7 separate regions of the Homo sapiens genome follow, and all the other regions are linked to region 4. The links are contacts of gene promoters, found by promoter capture Hi-C in blood cells and fetal thymus (Javierre and others, 2016). All regions are on one chromosome and are shown on one strand. The core of a region is centred on a gene start or on the middle of the fragment in contact, and the rest is flanking DNA. Distances in the headings are between cores, read along the strand shown. Region 1 overlaps WNT6 (Wnt family member 6). Region 2 has its middle 10 kb from the start of CXCR1. Region 3 overlaps RUFY4 (RUN and FYVE domain containing 4). Region 4 holds the start of USP37 (ubiquitin specific peptidase 37). Region 5 has its middle 22 kb from the start of CXCR1. Region 6 overlaps CXCR2 (C-X-C motif chemokine receptor 2). Region 7 holds the start of TRY-ATA1-1 (tRNA-Tyr (anticodon ATA) 1-1).

What was found. Contacts are between HindIII fragments. The CHiCAGO score rates a contact against its expected background, and 5 or more counts as called.
Region 1: a fragment that was not itself captured here is called in contact with the fragment with the promoter of USP37 in region 4 in 2 of 17 cell types (total B cells and activated CD4 T cells); the score reaches 6.5 in total B cells.
Region 2: a fragment that was not itself captured here is called in contact with the fragment with the promoter of USP37 in region 4 in 1 of 17 cell types (neutrophils); the score reaches 7.7 in neutrophils.
Region 3: a fragment that was not itself captured here is called in contact with the fragment with the promoter of USP37 in region 4 in 1 of 17 cell types (neutrophils); the score reaches 5.6 in neutrophils.
Region 5: a fragment that was not itself captured here is called in contact with the fragment with the promoter of USP37 in region 4 in 12 of 17 cell types (non-activated CD4 T cells, total B cells, neutrophils and 9 more); the score reaches 11.4 in non-activated CD4 T cells.
Region 6: a fragment that was not itself captured here is called in contact with the fragment with the promoter of USP37 in region 4 in 1 of 17 cell types (neutrophils); the score reaches 5.0 in neutrophils.
Region 7: a contact is called between a fragment that was not itself captured here and the fragment with the promoter of USP37 in region 4, in 11 of 17 cell types (non-activated CD4 T cells, total B cells, naive CD4 T cells and 8 more). The highest score is 10.9, in non-activated CD4 T cells.

The regions. Positions count from the first base shown.
Region 1 is chr2:218,871,284-218,874,581 of GRCh38, reverse strand. It overlaps WNT6 (Wnt family member 6), which reads right to left. Exons shown (of 4, transcript NM_006522.4): 3 at 2,763-3,097; 4 at 349-1,198. The coding sequence ends at 737. It also overlaps a transcript of WNT10A not described here. Among named protein-coding and RNA genes, the nearest start is that of WNT10A, 7.9 kb to the left of the region's middle. RefSeq lists an enhancer at 1,981-2,927 and a silencer at 3,006-3,075. The HindIII fragment of the contact is 2,323 bases long and covers 98-2,420 here.
Region 2 is chr2:218,155,046-218,158,166 of GRCh38, reverse strand. No RefSeq gene overlaps it. Among named protein-coding and RNA genes, the nearest start is that of CXCR1, 10 kb to the left of the region's middle. The HindIII fragment of the contact is 2,941 bases long and covers 1-2,834 here.
Region 3 is chr2:218,077,087-218,080,413 of GRCh38, reverse strand. All of the region lies in intron 10 of RUFY4 (RUN and FYVE domain containing 4), which reads right to left. Among named protein-coding and RNA genes, the nearest start is that of RUFY4, 9.5 kb to the right of the region's middle. The HindIII fragment of the contact is 1,945 bases long and covers 1,020-2,964 here.
Region 4 is chr2:218,566,617-218,569,794 of GRCh38, reverse strand. It overlaps USP37 (ubiquitin specific peptidase 37), which reads left to right and starts at 1,444. Exons shown (of 26, transcript NM_020935.3): 1 at 1,444-1,617. It overlaps CNOT9 (CCR4-NOT transcription complex subunit 9), which reads right to left and starts at 956. Exons shown (of 8, transcript NM_005444.3): 1 at 817-956. The coding sequence starts at 840. RefSeq lists enhancers at 362-551, 346-973, 974-1,601 and silencers at 1,262-1,321, 1,412-1,481. The HindIII fragment of the contact is 2,574 bases long and covers 119-2,692 here.
Region 5 is chr2:218,187,669-218,190,836 of GRCh38, reverse strand. No RefSeq gene overlaps it. Among named protein-coding and RNA genes, the nearest start is that of CXCR1, 22 kb to the right of the region's middle. The HindIII fragment of the contact is 6,006 bases long and covers 1-3,168 here.
Region 6 is chr2:218,137,103-218,140,285 of GRCh38, reverse strand. It overlaps CXCR2 (C-X-C motif chemokine receptor 2), which reads right to left. Exons shown (of 3, transcript NM_001557.4): 3 at 3,035-3,183. Among named protein-coding and RNA genes, the nearest start is that of CXCR2, 13 kb to the right of the region's middle. The HindIII fragment of the contact is 2,972 bases long and covers 1-2,870 here.
Region 7 is chr2:218,242,866-218,246,302 of GRCh38, reverse strand. ARPC2 (actin related protein 2/3 complex subunit 2) reads right to left here. Exons shown (of 11, transcript NM_152862.3): 8 at 757-883. TRY-ATA1-1 (tRNA-Tyr (anticodon ATA) 1-1) reads right to left here and starts at 477; the gene lies at 385-477. The HindIII fragment of the contact is 698 bases long and covers 1,375-2,072 here.

The sequences.
Region 1 (3,298 bases), core at 10-2,509, 300 kb before region 4:
AACTGCCCTCTGTCTCCTCACTTTCACCAGTAGCTTCCCAAGAGGAACCAGAAGGAAGGAAATATTGTTGGGTGTCAAGAGGTATGCATCAGAAGCTTCTGATGCCCCTGTCCCTTTAAAGAGGAATTGCTAGTTCTTCTCCAGCTTGCAGATCCAGGACCTAGATGTGTGACAGGAGTGAACAAGAAGAATGCCAAGGGGAGATAGCGAGTTTCCAGGAGAGGCCAACCTGGTCGGGAGATAGGGACCCAGGTGATAGCCCCTGAGGTGCTAGTTCTAGCAAAACCACCTTCTTCTGGAGCCTGGCAGCCTGAAGATCAGTCTCCCCCAAAACTGTGGGTCCAGCCCTGGTGGTTTAAATATCTTTATTGATACTAACCTCACCCACCATCCTGTGGCCAGCAGTTCTGGGGAGCCCAGTATCCAGAGGCCTTTAGACTGGCTTTTTTCCAGTCTAAAAAACTGTTTCCTCCTAGAGGCCAAGGGGAGGGAGGGCCTGTACAGTGTCCTTTAAACGCTCCCCGAGCGCCTTTTCGGGGCCGTCTGGCGCCCTGGGCCTTCGTGGGTGGGCGTTCCTCTCAAGCCCCTCGCCTCACCATTTCCAGAGCCCTGGGAGTTGGGCTTTGGCAGGGAGAGGCTGGGCTCGAGCGGCGAGAGGCGCCCGGTGCCGGTGCCCTGAGGTCCCACAGGTGCGAGCCACCGCTGCGCGAAGTCAGTCTAGCGGCCGGGCGGCGGGTCACAGGCAGAGGCTGAGCTCCTTGCGCACACGGCAGCGGTGGCACTGTACTACGCAGCACCAGTGGAAGCGGCACAGGCAGTTCTCTTCGAGCTGCACGCTCTCCTGGCGGTGCCCGCGGCCGCAGCACAGCAGGTCGCAGCCGCTGAGGTCCGGGGCGCTGCTATTGCAGGCGCGACCGCGCGTGCCGGGGGAGCCGGTGCGTCGGTTGGGGGCGCAGAAGTCGGGCGAATCGGCGGCGTAGAGGAGGTCCGCTCGGCCCGGCGGCTTGAGCGTGCGGACGGCGGGCAGCAGGGCCTTGCCGTCGTTGGTGCCCATGACGCGTGAGGCGCCGTGGAAGCGCTCCAGCAGCCGCGCGCCCACCTCGCGAAATGGAGGCAGCTTCTGCCAGCAGGTGCGCAGCGCGCATGATCCCGACAGCCCGTGGCATTTGCACTCGGTGCGCGTGTGGCTCCGCACGGCCTGCGGGAGGCAGAGGGGCGGACGCATGTGGACAGGTAGGGGGTGCAGGGAAGGGCCCAGCGGATGGACAGAAAATAAGATTGGGAATGGGAGGTGAAAGGAAGAGAGGAAAATGCAGACAAAAGGAGACCGCAAGTTCAGGGGGAGGAAATCAAGGAAAGGACAACTCGGAGGGGAGGAGCAGGAGGAATGGTGAGGATGGAGGAATATGATGATGACGAAGAGGGGAGACGGGGACAATATGCAGCGCAGAGATTCCAGGGTCCAAAGGCAGGGGGTGGGGGAGAAAGCAGAATGGACAGCAGGGGTGAGATTCTCTTTGGAGGAGGGGAGAGGTGGCAGCTGTCGAAGTCTAGCTCTCCTGCCTACCTGGCCCCCTCATTCCTACCCCTCACGGCCCCCAGGCCGGGCTGAGCACAGACGCAGAGCCAGCCTCCTGGGCATCTGTCTCCGTCACCCCTCCCCAACCCTCTCGGCAGGTATGTGGGCCTGTCCGGACATTCCTCTTCAGGCCCCCTCCTCCCCCTGCCCGATGCCTCAGGCCCGAACCCTAGAGGACACGGTATGTATGGCGATGTCCCTGGAGAACGCTAGAACGGAGGCATGGGGTGCAGGAGGGCCCGCTGGGAATGCAGTACTGAGAGTGGAACCCAGGCGGCCTCTCCCCTAGTCACTGTCTGAAGCAGGGTCTAAGATTCCCAAACCCACCAAGCGCTGATGGTTCAGAAGACCCAAGAAAATCATTTCTGGAAGCTCAGAGTCCAGGGGCTAACCTGACCATGTGTCCCACTCCCACCTCCTGAGTCTGCCCTGCCCCCTCCTGGAACCATCACACCCAGACAACCTTCTTGCCCCTGAATGAGAGCTCCTGGGGCTCTCCTCGTTACAGAGGGGAGAGGAGAGGCTGCCATGGCTCTGGGCAGGTGAGACCTGGGCTGGTGTTGCTGGGCAGCCAGTTGGCAAATGCCCAGAATTGGTCACAGCTGTCCTGGCCTCCACCTGACTCCCTCCAACCTCCACTAGGATTGGTTCCTTGTCCTTCGCTCTTTTCCATTGCCCCTCAGACCTGTTCTAACTCTTTCTAGGCCTCTCTCACTCCCCCTGGCTTCCCTGTACCAAAACCCCAGACCTTGCATTAGCTTCTATCCTGTCTTTCATCCCCACCTTTGTTTTATTCTCCTGCCCCTGCCTAGGCATCCAGACCTCCTACCCACTGCAAGCTTTGCTTCACCTGTCCTGTCTTGAAGCTGTGCCCTCTCTGCCTGGGGTCACTAAAGACCCTCAGTCCTATTCCCTGAGTGTCCCTTCCCCCATTCTGCCCGCTGTACCGTCCAGCATCTGGCCTTCTCAGACCCCCACGTGACTCCTTCTTGGAGGCTGGACACCTCTCCTCCCACATGTCCATCCATGCTTGCAGCCCATCTTTCCGCCCGTGCGCACTCCCCCACACATTAACGCCCCCCTCCACCTACACACCCTCACTCCTGCCAACACTTCCTCAAGCACACTCCTGCGCGCACACTCACATTTCCGCACACACTCACTCCATCCTGCCCGTACGCACCAGCCTGCCCGCCTCGTTGTTGTGCAGTTGCACCAACGCGCGGATGTCTCCGCGTCCCCGCTTGTGCCGCGCGTCCATAAAGAGCCTCGACTTCTCGTCCCCGAAGTCCACGTCGTCGCCGCAGCCTCCCCACTCCCAGGCGGCGCTGCCTTCCGGGGAGCCCGCGGGGCCAGGGGGTCCGGGGGTGCCGGGCAGGCCGGAGGGCCGGGGAGGGGCCCGCCCGCGGGGCGCCTGGCAGCCGCACTGCAGCAGCTCGCCCATAGAACAGGCCTGCGTGACGGCGTGGCTGGCGCCGGCCGCAGTGATGGCGAACACGAAGGCCGTCTCCCGAATGTCTGTGAATGCAGACAGGTGCAATCAGCGCGGGCTGGGGCGGTCAGCTGGGGCCTGGGACCTGAAACCTGCGGCGGGAGGGCTGCCCCAGGGGCCTGGGAGGCAGGGTCCTTGCAGGGTGCCCAGACACATGTGAGGGGGAAGTGGGGCTCAGGCAACTTCAGCGAACCAGTTCTCCTCTCCTCGGGTCCCACAGCAGGGAG
Region 2 (3,121 bases), core at 115-2,614, 410 kb after region 4:
AAGGCCAGCCCGGGCAACATGGTGAAACCCCATCTCCACAAAAAAATACACACATGCACAAAATTAGCTGGGCATGGTGGAATGCACCTACTCTGGGGGCTAAGGTGGGAGGATTGTTTGATCCTGGGAGGCAGAGGTTGCAGTGAGCCAAGATTGCACCACTGCCTTCCAGCCTGGGCAACAGAGTGAGACCTTGTCTCAAAAAAAAAATCCTCCTTCCTTAGCCCCCAGGTAGCTCGGACTACAGGCACGCAACACCATCTCTGGCTAATGTTTAAAATATTTTTTGGAGAGATGGAGTCTCACTATGTTTCCCAGGCTGGTCTTGATCCCCTGGCCTCAAGTGATTCTCCCACCTCTGCCTCTCGAAGTGTTGGGATTATAGGTGTGAGTCACTGTGCGTGGCAAAAAATATACTTATTTTAAAGTCAGATCCAAATTGCTTTATTATCTTTAGCTCCTCAGGTGTGAATTCTCCCATTTGCTGTTGACTGACTGTTGATTGTGATGATTGTCAGCTCTTTGTAACATTTTATTGTTAATTCATCTTTTGAAGGCATTTTTTTGTTTCATGGGAGTCTTGCATGTGCCCTGGATTATGAAGAAGTCTATTCAGGGGTGGCTTTATGGCTGTACCTGCTAGGGCCTTACTGGGTTACATAGCTCAGAGCATTTTTTGTTATTGATATTTCTTGGCCCTGAGTTTCCACACCATTGCAAATGACAGATTTGGGTCCTCATCACTTGATACTAGGGCTTGGGATTCTGGAATGTTCCTCAATTGGCCCCTTTTCTCTCATGACCTAGGAAGGCAGCTCACTTGGGGGTTGTGTCTCAGGCTGCAAAGTGCTTTTCTATCCCCATTCAAGGGCATGGCAGCTCTTTCTTGGTCCTGACAATTTTATAGGCAATCAAGTTGTAGTTTCTGCTATACATGGGGCCTTTAGGGTCACTGGTATTATCATTCCCATCCTTAAGGTACATGATCAATTCTAGTATCTTTCTGGGTTCCTCTGGCTTTAATCCTACTCCCTGATAAGTCCATACATTTTTAAGCTCCCTCTTCATTTCTGGCCCTTGGAGATTTTTTCTCTCTCTCTTGCCTGCTATTGACCTCAGATATTTATTTTTAAAAATTAATTAATTCATTCATTTATTTTTGAGACAGAGTCTCACTCTATTTCTCAGGCTGGAGTGCAGTGGCGTGATCTCAGCTTACTGCAACCTCTCCCTCCCGGGTTCAAGCAATTCTCCTGCCTCAGCCTCCTAAGTAGCTGGGATTACAGGCACCCACCACCATGCCAGCTAATTTTGGTATTTTTAGTAGAGACGGGGTTTTGTCATGTTGGCCAGGCTGGTCTCAAACTCCTGACCTCAGGTGATCCGCCCGCCTCGGCCTCCCAAAGTGTTGGGATTACAGGCATAAGCCACCACGCCCAGCCTTTTTAAAAATTAAAAAAAAAGTTATTTAGGATGCCTATGGAGGGCATGTTTGTGTTGCTGATTTGCTGCTATGCCTCTTCAGCCAGCCCATTATCATGACCAGAAATTCAGATAGCACATCAAACGAAAAACAAAGTTCCTTTTCTTGTTTTTTATTTCCCTTTCTTATGTTAAAACCTTCTTCCAGAAAATGTTATGTACCCCAGGAGGATACATTGACGGGATTTCTAGGTAACCCACAGTGTGTACGTGCATGTTGCTTATGCATGGGTGCATATGTATGTCTGTTTTGGGGATGAATGACCCAACGTTATTCCAGAACTATCACCCCCTTTTTTTTAGCCAGGCTTGCATCAGGGGGATGGAAGAAGTAAGATCTAGAAGGTAAATGGGGAGGGACCGCTGAAGAAATCTAGTCACTTCCGACATGGGAAGGAATTGTGTTGCCCAACTGAAACCTAAGAGGCCACATCCGTACCTCTCCCTTGGTTCCCATACTGTAAACAACATGGCTGTCTTCCTGAAAGAGGTGACTTTGCTCCAGCTTTAAAGGTATTGGGGGTGTGGGGAGACTAGGCAGGTACAGGTCTCAGGGCTGTGCAGTGCAGGGTTCCCCACTTGGCCAGCATACTTGAGCACTCCTCTGAGTGGGACCCTGGCAAGACTCAGCATGTACTGTCTTTGTGCACATTCCCACATGTTCCTAAGTGAGAATCCGCTAGTTGTCTGATTATGTAACAAATGCTTGTTTGCATCCAACTCCGTGCTAGGTCTTAAAACAAAGTAATGGGCCAGGCTCAGTGGCTCATGCCTGGAATCTCAGCACTTTGGGAGCTGAGGTGGGCGGATCATCTGAGATCAGGAGTTCGAGACCAGCCTGGCCAACATGGTGAAACCTGGTCTCTACTAAAAATACAAAAAAATTACCTGGGTGTGGCGGTGGGCACCTGTAATCCCAGCTACTTGGGAGGCTGAGACAGGAGAATTGCTTGAACCCAGGAGGCAGAGGTTGCAGTGAACCAAGATTGTGACACTGCACTTCAGCCTGGGTGACAGAGCAAGACTCTATTTCAAACAAACAAACAAACAAACAAACAAACAAACAAACAAAGTAATGTACTAAAGAAATAAAATCTAAGGGGACAAAGGAAATGTGTGAATGGAGGGTATGTGAGGAGTTTATGAAATTTCCTGTAGGGTCACTGGAACAAAGAGATCTATCTGGGGGTCCTAGTGTACCACAAGCTGAACCTGAAGATTTGGAAAAATGTTTCTAATTAAATAAAACAGAGCAAAAAGACAGACTTAGTTGCTGTGTTACTTGAATCTTCACTTAAATTTTCAGAACCTTGGTTTCCGCTCCCATAAAATGAAGTTTGAATAGGCAAGCTTCCTTCCAGTTCTAAGAATGGGAGATGCTCGAAATCTAAGAGTGTACTGCGATGGACAAACAGGACTATAGCTCTAGTGAACTTGACATGAAACATCCATCTTTGCCCAGATCGTGATTATCCACAATTAGGTGCCCTGTGAAGGCCAGTTCTTAGTATGTGTTTTCCAGGCAGCTGCTGACCAAGTCTGACCTGAGGAGTTCCTAGAAGGCCTCTCTCTGTCCCCTTCTCTTTCTCCTCTCTTCCACCTCCCCATCCAATATTTCCCTCCCTGGTCTGTCAGCCAT
Region 3 (3,327 bases), core at 743-3,242, 490 kb after region 4:
AAGTCCGTTTTCACAGCCCCATGGGCCTGCCTGAAGCCTGCCGCCTTCAGGTCAGCTGTGGCTCACCTCTGCCCCCAGCCTGTGCTCTGCACGGGACTTCTACCACACTTCCACTGTCCTCCACACCACAGCCTGAGTGAGCCTTTAAACACAGAAGTCAGACGGAGAAACGCCCCTGCTCTAAACCCTGCCCCAGCCTCTGGTAGCACAGAGAATTCCGGTGCCTCACTCTGCCTTTGAGGCCCCTGGCTCCGGCTCTGCCGCTCTCTCCTCTGCTCAGCCACACCCCGTATGCATCTGGCCTGCCTGTCAACAAACGCATGTCTTCCGGACATTCCCCTGGCCACAGCACTTCTCACTAGATATTTGCATGGTCCAGTCTTTCATGTGGTTGGGGCTTCTGCTCAAATGTCACCTCAGAGAGGACTTTCTGGACCCCAGTCTGAATGACTATCCTGTCTTTCTCCGCGCCCTTCCCTGCCTTTGTTTTTTTCCCTAGCATCCATCCAATGGCCATTGGATTGCTATCTGTTTATCTGTCCCAGGTCTTCTAGAGCAGGCTGGGCCAAGTTTGTTCACCACACCTGCTCATGGCCATTGTAGAAGCATACTAAATGTCCATGGAATGAATGGGTCCCTCGGCACTTCTATTCTCTGTGTTGAGGAACTCATCACCAGCTTGATGCCCACGGGCTCCTTTCCCGGGAGTGAGCTTTGTCCTTAGCTCCCTGGCTCCCAGGCATCAGGGTAGCACATCCTCTTCTGAGCCTCAGGGTCAGCTGTTACTCACCATCCTTACTCTGAGGACTCCAGGATCGATCTCCCAGCGCACACTTCCCTCCTGAGTTCCACACTTAACTGCTTGCCCAGCGGCTCCCGTCTGACATGTCTAACAGGTATCTCAAACGTAACGTGTTCAAAACCAAGCTCTGAACTTTCCCTACAAATCTGCCCTGCCACAGCCCACACACTTCAGTTAATGGTGACTCTAGCTTTCCAGCTGATCAGGTCAAAAAGCTTAGAGTCATTCTCAACTTCTGTCTTTCTTTCATACAGCATATCCAATTCCTCAGGAAGTTCTACTTCACACTTCATCCAAAGCCCGGCAGCTTCTCCTTGCTCCATGCTGCCAGCCCAGTCTGAGCACCCCAACTCTCCCCTGCATGGCAGGGTCCTCGCTGGACTCCCTGTGTTCAGCTTGCCTGCTAACAGGCCAGCTCCAAGGGGCCTTTAAAACGCACATCAAGCCGGGCACCGTGGCTCATGCCTGTAATCTCTACACTTTGGGAGGCTAAGGTGGGTGGATCACCTGAGGTCAGGAGTTTGAGACCAGCCTGGCCAACATGATGAAACCCCATCTCTACTAAAAATACAAAAAATTAGCTGGGCGTGGTGGCAGGTGTCTGTAATCCCAGCTACTCGGGAGGCTGAGGCAGGAGAATCACTTGAACCCAGGAGGCGGAGGTTGCGGTGAGCCGAGATGTCGCCACTGCACTCCAGCCTGGGCAGCAAGAGCGAAACTCTGTCTCAAAAACAAAAACAAAACAAAACAAAAAAACCAACAACAACAAAAAACATGCCAGCCTCTAACAGGCTGATCTATAGAGAAAGTGGACTGGTGTTACCTAGAGCTGGGAAAGGAATGAGGAGTGGCTGCTAATGGGTACAGGGTTTCTCTTTGGGGAGATGGAAATGTTCTGAAATTGATTGAGGTGGTGGATGTATAACTCTTAAATATACTAAAAACCATTTAATTGTTAAGCATTTGAAAAAGCATGTAAACATCTTTTTGACATTAAAAAAAGTCAAGTCTCTCTCCTACTCTGAGCTCTCAGTGGCTCCCATCTTCCTCTGAGTCAAAGTCGAGGCACTTCCGATGACCTCGCAGGCTCTCCCTAACCTGCCTCCTTGGCTCACCTGACCTTTTCCCACATCCTCTCCCTCCCTCACTCTACTGGGGCCCGGAAGGCCTCCTTGGATGTTCCTAGAACCTGCCCTGCCCGTCCTCCATCAGGGCCTTTGTTTTTGCTGTTCTCGCAGCCTGGAACATTCTACCGAATAGTCAAAGGGCTTGATCTTCACTTCCTTCAGGTCTTTAGGTCAATGTCACATTTACAGGGAGGTCTTCCCTGGCCATATTACCTTATTAAAATGTAAAATACCACACCAACATGTCCCATTCCTCTTGTCTGCTTTATGTCTTCTTCTTAGAACTTATTCCAATCTGATATCCTAGGTACTTTACTTGCTAATCACTTTTATTGCCTCCTCCACTAGAATGCAAGCTCCATGAGGGCAGGCGTTTGGCCTGTTTTGTCTGTGAGAGGATTTCCCATACCTAGGACAGGCCTGGCTCAGAGTGGGTGCACAGGGTGTTTGTGGAATGACTGAATGATGAGTGACAGGTGGCCGGAGCACTGTGGTCTGTGAGACAGGGTCCCCAGTAAAAGGAGCAGCCAGGGCCAGGCCATCTCTCTATAACCTCCCAGCTGCTCCTCCCAGACTGTCTTGAACCCTTGAAGACTCTTGTGTGGCCAGAACCCCCATGTTCATTTTGCCCTGAATCGTGGAAACCTTTGCGACCACACTGTGTGCTCAGCTGAGTGTGGAGTGGGAGGAGCCTGGGGGTCCTTTTGGGTTGGTTTCTGGGCTCCTGGGCCTCTCTCACCTGCGAAGCAGACAGCCAGAAGGCTTCCTAGTGATTCAGGCTGAATCACAGCTACTCAGGCTCTGCTGGGGTCCGACTGGTGTCTGTTGGACCTGGGGCAGGTGTTAGCCATGTGGGAGAGAGAGACAGGGGCAGGTGGGCAGACTGACGTACCCGGAGACCACAGGAGAGAGACACAGAGAGGCTGAGTCAGGCCACGGAAGATCTCTGCAGTGAGAAGAGACTTTAAAAAATAAATTATGGGCTGGGTGTGGTGGCTCATGCCTGCAACCCTAGCACTTTGGAAGGCTGAAGCTTGAGCCTAGGAATTTGAGACCAGTCTGCACCATGTAGTGAGACCTCGTCTCTACAAAAAGAAAGAGAGAGAGAGAGAGAGAAACTGAGACCTGAGAGACTGAGGACTGAGGGGGGATGGTAGAGACAGACAGCGTGCTGTGGGCCCCTGAGGTCAATGTGATGACGGAAGATGAAGACACTGGATGGTGAGAGACACTGAGCAGGAGAAACGGAGAGACTGAAGTGCAGGCACTCGACATGCTGCCTGAATGGGGCGTCTGAGCCCACTGGTTCTGGAGTCAGCTGCAGGCCTTGAATCTCAGCTCCCCCGCTAACTAGCCAATGGTGGGTGAATTGTGCAGCATCTTTGAGCCTCAGCTTCC
Region 4 (3,178 bases), core at 195-2,694:
TGTATGTAAAGGAGGAGGGATAAGAAGAACATTCACTCCAGGCATAGAGACCACAAAGTGCATCTTGGAGAAAAATAAGCGCGTTGCAGAGGGTTAGGTGGCCAGAGTAGCTGAAGCTTTAGGAGCAAGAGACATAAAACGAGATTATAAACGTGGGTTAAGTACCACATCATACAGGGCCGTGCAGGCTATGGCAAGGAGTCTAGATTTTATTTAAATGCCAAGAGAAGTAGGATTACTTCGGATAGCTGAATTACACTATCTTTCTTTTTTGTTAAAAGATCACGCGGGTAAAACGAGATGTGTCGAGGAAAAGTTTTAAATGCAGAGAACCTAAGTCAGATGCAAAAATTATGCACTTTTCCGGGCCTCAGGTTTTCCATAAATAAAGCAAGTGGTTTGAACTAGAAGCCATTTCCTTCCCGCTGCGACGTGGTGAGTTCTAAGAGCAGGGGCCGCGTCAGATTGACCATGGAATTCCCCTCATCGACGCCGGCGCCCAGAACACAACTGGCGCCCTGAAACTGTTGGTCAGCGCAATAAATCAATGAATGGCCTGCTACGGGCGTGGGACCAGGCCCCGGCGCCCGCAAAGAACGCGATGGGTCGCGCTGAAGGCCGCGAGAGGCGTCCGGCAAGGAAATAGGGGCCGGCTCCACCACAACCAAAGCGTGCCGAGGAGGGGAACCGGGGCCTTGGAGATTGAGGGCAGAAAAAAATCAGACTAGGGACCCGACACCGGGAATTAGGAGAGAAGGCCGAAACGTGGGTCTGAGAAAGGATTCTGGTTCCAAGCCTGGGGGCCCAGCCACTCACCGCAGCCGTCGCCAGGCTGTGCATGTTGTGAGCGGCCGCCGCTCTCTTCCACAGCCGGACGCGTCCGACCCGCGTCCCCCCTTCAGCACCCCTGCAGCGGAAAACAATGAGCCGCCGTAGCCGCCATCCGACTCCGGCTCGCTCCGCCCACTTCGCGGCCCTCTGACCTCTCACCCCTGACCCCACCCACACATCCTCTTCCCGCCTCCAGGGCCTAGTTAACAGTCCCAGAGTATGTCCTTTGCCCCTTAAGATTTAGGACCGGAAGGACGTCCGCGACCACTAGTCCCCGCAACTTCTGGCTTTGAGCAGTTATTTCCAGAGAGCGGCGTGAACTCTGACCCTCCTCCAAAAGCCAGTGAACGGCGGGAAAAGATGGACAGTCCCGGCAAGACAACTATTGCGCATGCCCGACTGGGTTGCGTAGGAGGGAAATGGTGGGGGGGCGTCGAAATCGGGTGAGGTGGAAAGTGCGCGTGCCTACTACAGTCACGGCAGGGGCGGGGCTGCCCGGGCTAGGCCGCTCTAGGTACTGGCGGGGCGGGGCGAGGGCGTGTGAGGGGCGGAGTTTTCGACTGACGCGCACGCGCCTGTCTGGTCGCGTCGAGTGTGCGTGCGTGCGTGCGTGTTTGCGTGTGGTCACAGTTCCCGCCATCAGCCGCTCTCCCTGACTAGGGGTAGCTAGCGGCCTCCCTCCTTTGGGTTCGGTATCCCTACTTCCATTACCCTCGGCTCCTCCCACTCCTCGCGGGCTCCGTGCTTTCCGCGGGTCTGTCCGGGGGCTCCGGACCCTCGGCGCAGGTAAGGCGGGCCGGGGTAGCTTCTCAATTGAGCCGTTTTCCCTACCTCCTCCTCCTTCTGTGCGATCCGCCCACTCGGCGTTCACTCCTCTGGAGTTCGCCCTGCTGCTACTCAGCCCGCCCACAACCCCTCGATGCACCCCCAGCCTCACAGGTACTACCTTTGGGTGCACTGCCCCGGCTTCCACCTCTCCTTTGACTTGGTCTCCACTGCCACTCGCTCCCTCCGAAACTCAAACCTGGCCCCTTTTCTCTGGGGCTGTTGTCGTTCGCCTCTTACCTTCTAACAGGGCCTGCTGTCTCTTCAGGTGACTTTCGTTACGGCACATCCACCAGGCCTTGGACATGATACTCATTCACTCTCTTGACCATCTTCACCTTCCTCTTGACCAGTCCTCACTGCAAAACATGAATTGTATTTTTGTTGTGCATTTCCTTGCGCCCATTTCTAGCCGCCAGATCAGGTTGTTAGATGTAACTATTTTAAGTCATGATCCATGAAAGGAAATGATGATTGATGATAAAATCCTGTGTCCTGAAGAGTTGTCCTAAAGTGGTTTTGGGGTATTCCTCTCAAAATTTCAGCTCTGTATAAATTCCTTTATTGAGGTGGCAATTCCTGACAAGTGTCTAACTGGAAGAGATACCTGAGAGGGAATGTCAAGTAGGCAGTTGGATATAGTGGGTTTGGAGATCTTAGGAGAGTTCTGGGCTGCGTACGTAAATGTGCGCGGTGTGTGTATGTGTTTGTCATCTGCCATATTGATAGTAATTGAAGCCATGGATGTGGATGAAATTGCCGAAAAAGAGTATAGTGCTGTAAAATAAAGGCACCTAGGATGGAGCATTGACGAATTCCTGCTGTTTAATAACCAATAGAGGAGGATGCGTCTTGCAAGCCATGAAAAAAGTCATCAGTAGTGTTGCATTCTGCTGAAAGGTAAAATGGAAGGAGGACTGAAAAACCCAGTGATATAAAAGTACTCACTTGTCTTAAAGATGTTTGATGAAGTAAAATGAGTATTTGGGTTCAGTCCTAGGTCCTCTTCTTTTACTCTTATATTCCTCCCTAAGCTTTAAATTTGATCTATATATTGATGACTTAAAAATTGTTATTTCCAGCCTATTCCCTTTGTTTTCAGCTCCACATCTAGATAGCCAGCTGTCTGCTTGACATCTCAACTTGATTTTTTTCTTAGGAGTTTCAGATGCAACACAGCCAAATCCAAAGCCTTGATCTTTCTCTCCATATCGAAATTCTTTCTTCTCCAGTGTCCCAGTTTATTAAGTGGCACATGACACAGGCTACACACTTGGGAGGCATTCTTGACTTCTACTCTCTCCAAGTTCTATCCTACTTCCAATACGTGTCTTGCATCTTTTTCTGTACATTTTCACTGTCACTTTTCTAGTTTAAGCCACAGTCCTTAAAAAACCTGGACTTGATTGCCTTGGCTTCCTGTATTATCATCTGTAAAATGGAAATAGTAATTTTCAGCCTATTGGATTGTTATGAGGATTAAGTGAGATAACCATGATAAGCACTTGGCACAGAGTAAATG
Region 5 (3,168 bases), core at 499-2,998, 380 kb after region 4:
GCCATCGCACTCCAGCCTGGGCAACAAGAGTGAAACTCCATCTCAAAAAAAAAAAAAAAAAAAAAAGAGAAAAGAAAAGTTGACAGAATTTCACTGTCTACTTGTACATCTACTACCTAGATTCTGCCATTAACATTTTACCTGCTTTATCTCATATTTATCCATTATCCATCCCTATAGCCATTAATCTATTCTTTTGGATGTGTTTCAAAGTAACTGTGGACACCAGTATACTTCTCCCTAAATACATCAGTGTGTACATCATTGATTAGAGATCAATATTTGTTTATAGTTTTTTTTTTTTTTTTGAGACGGAGTCTCTGTTGCCCACACTGGAGTGCAGTGGTGCGATCTTGGCTCACTGCAACCTCCGCCTCCCAAATTCAAGTGATTCTCCTGCCTCAGCCTCCCAAGTAGCTGGGATTACAGGCATGCGCCACCATGCCCTGCTAATTTTTGTATTTTTAGTAGAGACGGGGCTTCACCATGTTGGCCAGGCTGGTCTCAAACTCCTGACCTCAAGTGATCCTCCTACCTTGGCCTCCTAAAGTGCTAGGATTACAGGCGTGAGCCACTGCACCTGGCCTTTAGTGTTTTCTTTTGATGTAAAATTTGTAGACAATGAAGTGCACAAATCTTAAGTGTATATTCACTAAGTTTCAACTAATAGGTGCCCCTGTGTAATCCCAATGCCCATCAATATAGAAAACATTACCATCATTCCTAAAAATCCTCTCATGTCCCCCCATGGCTGGTTTGTCTCTGCCTCCATCCTCCCAGAGGTAACTTCTGCTCTGATTATTTTCAGATTAGTTTCACCTGTTCTAGAACTTCATAGAAGTGGAAGGCTTCTTTTACTCAGTGTAATGTTTTTAAGATACATCATGTTGTGGAGTATATCAGTAATTCAGTCCTTTTTATTGATGAGAATGACTCCATTGTATGACTATTCCACTGTATGTTTAGCCATTCTCCTATTGATGGACACCTGGACTGTTTCTAGTTTTTGGCAATTATCAATAAAGCTATTGATATTTTTGTGAACATATTATTTTCATTTCTCTTGGGCATATTCCTAGGAGTGGGATTGCTGGGTCAGAAAGTAGAAGAAACTGCCAGACCTTTTACCAAAGTGTTTGCACCATTTTACATTCCCACTAATTATATGTGAGGATTCCAGCTATACTACAACCCACTAATAGTCGATATTATCATGCTTTTGTATTTTTAGTCATTCTGGTGATGTGATGTTTGATTGTGTAATGAGATTTCTTTTCTTTTTCTTTCTTTTTTTTCTTTTCAGATAGAATCTCACTTTCACCCAGGCTGGGTCTCAGCTCACTGCAACCTCTGCCTACGAGGCTCAAACAATTCTCCCACCTCAGCCTCTTGAGTAGTTGGGACTATAGGTGCATATCAGCACGCCTGGCTAATTTTTGCATTTTTTGTAGAGATGGGGTTTCGCCAGGCTGCCCAGGCTGGTCTCAAACTCCTGGCCTCAAGTGATCCACCTGCCTTGGCCTCCCAAAGTGCGTGGATTACAGGCGTGAGCCACTGTGTCTGGCCCACATTGTTGATAAAACCTTCCTTTCCCTCACTGGATTGCTTTGGAACTTCTGTTGAAAATCAAGTGATGGTGTAAGTGTGGCTCTATTTCTAGGATTTCTTTTACATTCTAGGTTTAGCTGAGTTTTGCCATGAGCTCAGTGTTGTCAAATCTTCAATTTTTTTTTTTTTTTTTTTTTTTTTTAAGATGGAGTTTTGCTTTTGTCTCCCAGGCTGGAGTGCAATGGTATGATCTCGGCTCACTGCAACCTCTACCTCCCGGGTTCAAGTGATTCTCCCGCCTCAGCCTCCTGAGTAGCTGGGATTACAGGTGCATGCCACCATGTCCAGCAAATTTTCATATTTTTAGTGGAGACAGGGTTTCACCATGTTGGCCAGGCTCTTCTTGAACTCCTGACCTCAGGTGATCCACCCGCCTTGGCCTCCCAAAGAGCTGGGATTACAGGCATGAGCCATGGCGCCCAGCCCAGATCTTCAAAATTTTAAAGGAGAGTGTATAAATCCAGATGTTTTTAAATGTGAAAAAGCCTCAAGGTTTAAAAGTCAGAAACCAATTCTAATTTAAACAAACAAGGAAACCAATCCCAGGCAGTCAAAGAAACTCATCTGCAGGCTGAACTAGATGTGTGGCATTGGAACAGGGAGAGGTAGTTTCAGCAGGAGTCTGGATACATGTGTGTATATATATGTATATAAAATTATTTTTTGAGACAAGGTTTTGGTCTGTTGCCCAGGCTGGAGTGCAGTGGTGTGATCATGGCTCATTGCATCCTTGACCTCCTGGGCTTGAGCAATCCTCCCACCTCAGCCTCCTGAGTAGCTGGGACCACAGGTGTGTTCCACCACACCTGGCTAATTTTGAAAATTGCTTTGTAGAGGTATGAGGTTCCACTGTGTTGCCCAGGCTGGTCTTGAATGCCTGGGCTTAAACGATCCTCCTGCCTCGACCTCCTAAAGTGCTGGAATTACAGGGGTGAGCCACTGTGCCCAGCCTGGATATATGTATATTAAAGTATAAATCAAGGGTCTTATTTTAATTGAAAGATAATGGGAGTGTTCTCAGGGCAAGTAGGTGGGTTCCAGTGGTCAGTGAAAGTCAATAAGAATTCACTGCAAGGGTAAAATTAAAGCCTGTGGGTCAAGGTTTCCTTGGTGCCTAGGAAAGTGGAGGAGCACATTTGTGAAGCTATTAGAATTGCATTTAGAAACCGTAAGGACAGGAAGGGCTAAGGGGAGGCACTGAGTGGAGGCAGTTGACAAACCAGTGACAGGAAAGACACAGGGCCAAGAGAGCCCAAAGTGAGCTGATTTGGAGAATCTGGAGCAGAGGGAATAAAGAGAATCACAGGTCTCTAAACCCAGGGCCCAGAAAGATGCTCCCTGGAATTGGCTGGAGGCTTCCTTGGCTCTGTGGGTGGAAATTGAGACAGAGCAGCCAGAAGACATACAACTGCACATGCCAGAGCTTAGAGCAGTTTCTCAGCTGCACCACAGACCTCCTGCCACCATGGTTGAATTATGACTGTTTAACATTTTAAAATTATTTTTTAAACATTGAAAATATGTAATGGGAACTATGTCACATGTTTCAAAAAAAAAAAA
Region 6 (3,183 bases), core at 135-2,634, 430 kb after region 4:
ACTTTTCTTGTGAATAGCATACATAGCACAGATTACAGAAAACTAACATTTATAGCTTAAAAAATAATAATATAATGGCTCTTAAGCATCTATCACATAGGATAAGAGAGAGGACATTATCAGTGCCCCCTAAAGCCCCCATGTGTTCCTCCCTTTCCCGACCCTTTAATAAATATCACCTGAACCTTTGTGGGAACCGTTCTTTTTCTTTAGAGTTCGCACATAAGTTTGTGCAGAGGATTTGTATTGAGTCAGCATAGATAGGATAGAACTGTATTTCCCCAAATTCTCTTCCTTTCACATTTCCAGGTCAGTGAGGGGCCAGAAGGGACCTTGTATGTGAGATCTGGAAGGTGGAAGTGGAGCAGCATCTACATTCTGTTTCAGCTCAGGAAGGTCAGTGGAAGGCACCAGACACCACCATATGATGTCACTTATCTGCCGGCTCCTGTAGGCATGGGGCCTGAGCTGGCCTGCAGCCCCTCAGGTGTGGGTTTACCTGCTTGGTGCAGGTGCCAGCTTCTCCACAGGCCATTCACATACTGAACTTGGACCAACGCAGGTATCAGCCTGTCCTGGTAGGTTCCAGCTCCTCCTCACTATTCCCACTTTACATCCATCTTTCCTTCCAGGCTGTCCATCCTACCAGCTTAAGATCCCAGCCAAGAAACAAAGCCAACAGCCTGACACTAATGGTTTAGCCAGCTCCCACAGTTGCCTAGGGTCAAATGCCTGTCACAAATTCCTCCTCCCAGTGGTTTTGCTTCTTTAATTGGCCCCTGCCTGATAAGATATGTGTCCTCTGTAGAGGGGTTAGTTGTGCCTGTCTCTGAATTTTGTTTTGGGCTCTGATTGCGTCTTTATTTATTTATTTATGAGACGGAGTTTCACTCTTGTTGCCCATGCTGGAGTGCAATGGCATGATCTCGGCTCACTGCAACCTCCGCCTCCCAGGTTCAAGTGATTCTCCTGCCTCAGCCTTCCATGTAGCTGGGATTACAGGTGCCCACCACCACACCTAACTAATTTTTGTGTTTTTAATTAGAGACTGAGTTTCACCATGTTGGCCAGGTTGGTCTCAAACTCCTGACCTCAGGTGATCTGCTCTCCTTGGCCTCCCAAAGTGCTGGGATTACAGGTGTGACCAACTGTGCCTGGCCACGATTGTGTCTTTAACTGTGCTGCCTGCCAGCCAAGAATAGGAGAACCCAGCCTGAGGCTGCTCCCACACCTGTGCCCCTGAGCCTCCTCTGGGCCTCGCTGACTGAGACTCCAGCAACCCCAGCTCCAGGCACAGATGAGTGCAGGTGCAGAAAATGTAGACTGGTCTTACCCGTGTGAGTGAAATGGTCTGAAAAGGTCATGTCTACATGTAATTTTCCATCTTGTCTGTCAGGTGCTCGAACCGAAAAGCGAAATATTTGGTAAAAAACGAACTGACTAGGAATCTTATTTCAGCTCCACTACTGTCTAGCCATGAGATTTTGGCCAGGTTGCTTTGGTAAAGCCTCAGTTTCCTCGTTTATGTATGGAAATGGGGACTTCAGGCCTCTTTGACAGACCGAGAAGGCAGATCAGGCAGAAAGGTGCTGGACCCTGAGACCTTGGGACTCAGGATCAGAAACATCAGAGGGAAGAAAGAAGTCAACAACTCAAAGGCAATCCCCAGACTCGCCTGTCCTAGGGATGGCGTGTTTGGTAAATTATTTGTGCCAAGACTGTTCTTATGAGAGAGAGTCTGAAAGAGAGAGAGAGAGACAGAGAGAGAGAGAGAGAGAGAGAGAGAGAGAGAGGAGATAGAGATGAATAACAGAGTTCACGTAAGCATAATTTAATCTCTGCCTCATTTTCCTAGGCTGATGGTATCCTTTTATTATCCTTGGAGAACCATGTTTCCTCCAGTCCTTGTGAGAGGAAAGAGCAGAGTCCTGAAACCAGAGTGAGGTGTAATTTGGCCTCTTCCCTCTGGGAGTCATCTCAGGGAGCCACCTGGTCCATCAGCCTTGTCCAGGCAGAGCACCATTGGTTCCTCTGGCAAGTCAGGTCCTTGGTAAATACACGTTCCCCTGCATTTCCCTGCTACTGAATCAGAAGCTGTTCCGAAGACTCAGCCAGAGCAGTTGAGTCGTGCTTGGTCCCGAGTTTAGCAAGTACCCAGCATAGAATGAGCAGGAAAGAAGGGATTGTTGTTGCTGAATGCAATAGGAAAGGCACTTCTGTGGCTTTTGAGTGGAAGTTCTCTGCCCCTCAAGCCCTCCCACTCAGAGGTGTGCTCCTGCCTCCCTGTTTTCCCCTAGATTTAGTTGTTAACCTGAAGGGGGTTGTTTGGGAACTGCGGACGTTCAGTTCCTCTTGCCTCCTTCCTTCCTTCTCAGGCTGCTCAGACCCAGAGCCCCTCTTGACAAAGACCCTGCAGAGACAAGCCCTAGGAATGTGAGCTCCCCCAGGGCAAGGCACTGTCTGTCGTGGTCTCTGCTGTATCCCCCCACTCTCCGAACAGTCAGCACTCCATGCTGTTGGAGGCATGATTCGAATCTTTTGTTTTCTCCTAATGACAGATTATAAACCACTTCCCCATTCTGCATTTGGGCTGTCCTGTCAAACCTGGAATGATGGGTGTGTGTTTGGGTGGAAGAGAGGGAAGAGGATAGGGCACTCACAGTGGGTGCTGCTGGTTGAGCTGGGAGAGCTCTCTGCCTTCCTGCTACCTGATCAGGGGGATTTGGTAAACTTACTCAACCCTCTGCACCTTCTAACTCTAAGTCTCACCCCTGACACTCCTGACTACTGCCTCACCCAACGACACGAGACGCCCTAGAGCATCCCAGAATGCATTTCTTTCCATGATGTGTGGTCTACAGCAGGAAGCTTGGGTTGGGGGTGAGGGGATGGCAAGGCTGGGCTCCATCTCTATTCCATCCTTTTCTCTATGACACAGCAAATAACAAAGAGATTTACTTCTTGTAAAGACTCTCACCCAAGACCTCCACTCACCCTTGCCCCACCACTCTGTAGCAATTTGGAAGCAGTAATATAAACACCCAAGTAAAAATGGTTTATTAAAAAAAAGATATTGAATGAAATCATTTAACAAAAAATATAGGCAGGTGGTTCTAGCCTTGGTTTAATCAGCCTTGGTGATTAAAATACCTTTTGGGGCTCAGGTTTTTTTTTAAATTGATA
Region 7 (3,437 bases), core at 474-2,973, 320 kb after region 4:
GATCTGCCCATGTTGGCCTCCCACAGTGCTAGGATTACAGGCGTGAGACACCGCACCCAGCCTCAACTCTTTTTTTTTTTTTTTGGAGACAAGAGTCTTGTTCTGTTGCCCAGGCTGGAGTCCAGTGGCACGATCTCAGCTCATTACAACCTCCACCTCCCGGGTTCAAGCAATTCTCCTGCCTCAGCCTCTGGAGTACCTGGGACTACAGACGTGCGCCACCATGCCCAGCTAATTTTTTTTTGTATTTTAGTAGAGACAGAGTTTCACCACATTGGCCAGGATGATCTTGATCTCCTGACCTCGTGATCCACCTGCCTTAACCTCCCAAAGTGCTGTGATTACAGCCATGAACCACCGTGCCCAGCCAAAACTGTACTTGTCTCCTTCAAGCTGGAATCGAACCAGCAACCTAAGGACGTCTCCTACTGAGGAAGTAGCTATAGTCCTCTGCTCTACCAGCTGAACTATTGAAGGGACCTTAACTCTTGATATCAGAATTCAGTCTTATTTTTAAGATTTAAGAAAAATGGGGAAAAAAAGGAAAGGATTACTGTACAAAAATAGCATATGGCCTGCTCTGTAATTAATACCCTGTGACATCCCTCCTTTAGTCACTGCAATGGCAACAGGAACAAGTTGGTATGCCTGCGTTTGCCTACCTTAAAATGTTAACCAAGGTTCTGTGCAGATTTAGGTATTCTGCTGTGTGAACTCATTAAAGCGGCACAAAAGCAGCAAGTGCACCCTGCTCACCAAAGGTAATGTAGCCAATGTTGTCACCCACAGCGGCGTCTGTGTCTTTCAGCTCCAGAGGAGGTTCCCTGTGGCTAAAGAGGACCTGTGGGGCTGTGTGGCTGGCTCTGCGTCCTTCTTTGAACTCCTGCCAAGACAAAGCAAAAGCAACCAGAAGAGAAGTGGGTGTAAGATGAGTGGCAACTCAAGCTATAGGGTTTGTTCTATGTGGTGTGACCTTTGTAGCCCTCCAGACCAGCAGGAGGTTAAAAATAAACTACACCAAACCTGAAATATGACAAGTGCTAGCTGCTACCACTACACTTCAGATTCAAACGGGAGAGACTGCAAAGTACTTAATAAGTCAGATCTTCAAAATGTGATGAAAAGTAGTGATAATCCTTTTCCTTTGCACTAACATAGGTGATAAACTACCATACTTTCTCTGGGCTCTGGGACTTTGCATGAGTCTTTTTTCACTGAGGATCCTGTTGCTATTTAGAATTCATCAATAAAATCTTTAGAGCAAACTTAAGCTCTTCTTGCGGACAGAAGACAATGGAATGAAAGAAGCTGAGTTGTCTTGGTGCTCATAAAGGAAGCCCTTCCTTCTATGTTCCAATCTCCAAACCTGAAGCTTCTACAGTCCATACATTCCTATGTAAATAGACAAGTAATACAAGGCTTCTCTCTCTCAGCCAGATCTGCAAGAACAGAAGTAGATTTTCTAGCAATGCCAGTAAAACTGGATAATCCAAATTCATCAAGTGGGCCTTCCAAGATGATAGACAGCAGGAGGATGCTGCCAAGGACTCTCCAAGGTCTCTTGTTTTAGGAGTTCTGAAGGCATGGTTACACAGCCATGTGGCCTGCGTGCCCTTCTACTGCTGCTCAAATACTGCCTCCTAATACCATCTCCAACAAACCCAGGCAGGTACTGCTCTCTTGCTGGAGCTGCCATGTCTTTTCTACAAACCTCTACTATGATATTTTACCATTCATTAATGTATCTGGCTCCCCTACCAGGTTATGAGTTCAAATCAAAGATCCTGCTTAATTTATCTTTGTAATTTATTCTTCTGTCTTTCAAAGAGGCTATGCAGCACATGCCTTGCTGAGAGAAAGCAAGTGCTTCTACCCTAGCTGGTTTAGTATCATCACACTGTACAGGAATAGGCAAGGGCTGTTTCCAGTTGCAGGCAGGAAGAATAAACACTGATTAGCAAGCCCTCTCGACAATTAGTGGCAAAAGAAAGATGATGGCTGAGGAGCCCCAATGCCCAGCCTGGGACCTCACCTATTTCACAAACTGCCTCTCATGCTAACACTACCAAGCTTTAAGTAGGAAAAGAAATGACCATCAACTGGGTTAGATTAGTCCCCTTTTGAACAGATTTTGTTCCCCGAAGGAAAAATATCCAAAAAGGAAGGGAAGGAGTCAAGATTATCCCAAATGGAAATTTCTAGAGCAAAGCTTCTAAAATCGCCCTTCTCTAGAAAACATTTTTTATTCTACAAAGGGGTTAAGAAGCTTTTTAACTTTTACTGGTTTTACTTTTCGGTATTAAGGAATTAAACAGAACAGATACGTAACTGTTGGCATTTTCTTGTGTCTGTTAAGTGTCTCCAAGGCTCTAATTCACAGGTACATGTGGTATTCACAATGAGATGGGGTATTTATAAACCAGTGGTGACTTATTAGCACTCATTAGTTTTGTATATGGAAAATAACATATTTAAGGCTCGGTCAACGATACGTTTCTGGCTTGGGCCTATTCTTTCTTTCTTTTTTGAGACAGGGTCTCACTCTGTCACCCAGGCTGGAGTGCAGTGGCGTGATCTTGGCTCACTGCAACCTCCACCTCCTAGGTTCAAGTGATTTTCATGTGTCAGCCTCACGAGTAGCTGAGATTACAGGCGTGTGCCATCATTCCCGGCTAATTTTTGGCCTTTAAAGTAGAAACAGGGTTTCACCATGTTGGCCAGGCTGGTCTCAAACTGGCCTCTAGTGATCCACCTGCCTAGGCCCCGCAAAGTGCTGGGATTACAGGCGTGAGCCACTGTGCCTGACTGGGACTATTCTTTAGATTCTCTGATGTCTTTGCTTCTCCTCAGTTCTCTCTCCTAAATAAAGCTTAAACAAACAAACACACCCAAACAGCCCTCCATCTTCATTGGCATCTTTGTTATACGTAATCAAGCAATATTGCCTTTTTACTCTCCTTCTGGCTAGGATGTCTTTTGAGCATCAGATTATTTCTCTCTTCCAAAGTACTATTTATCATAGGAAGTTCGGAATAAATCCAAATATATACAAGGCATTTAGCATATGATAAAAGTAGCATCTTAAATCAGGGGTGTAAAAAAGGAAATAATTGCCACTGGGACCACTGGATAGCCATTTAGGAAAAAAAGATCATTCTTTCATACCATACAACAAGAGGAGCTCTCAACAAATAAGAAAAAATCATGTATAAAATATGTAACTGTAAAAATACTCAGAAAATAACAGGTAAATTTCTTTATAACCTTCGAGTAGGGAAGGGCTTTCTACCTATAACTCAAAATCTAGAAGCCATAAAAGGCAAGACTGATTAATTTGATTATGTAAAAACAAACTTCCACATGGTGGAAAAAACCCCACAAAACACGGTCCAATGACAAACTGGAGAAAATATTTCAACTCTTAATCACAGATGAAA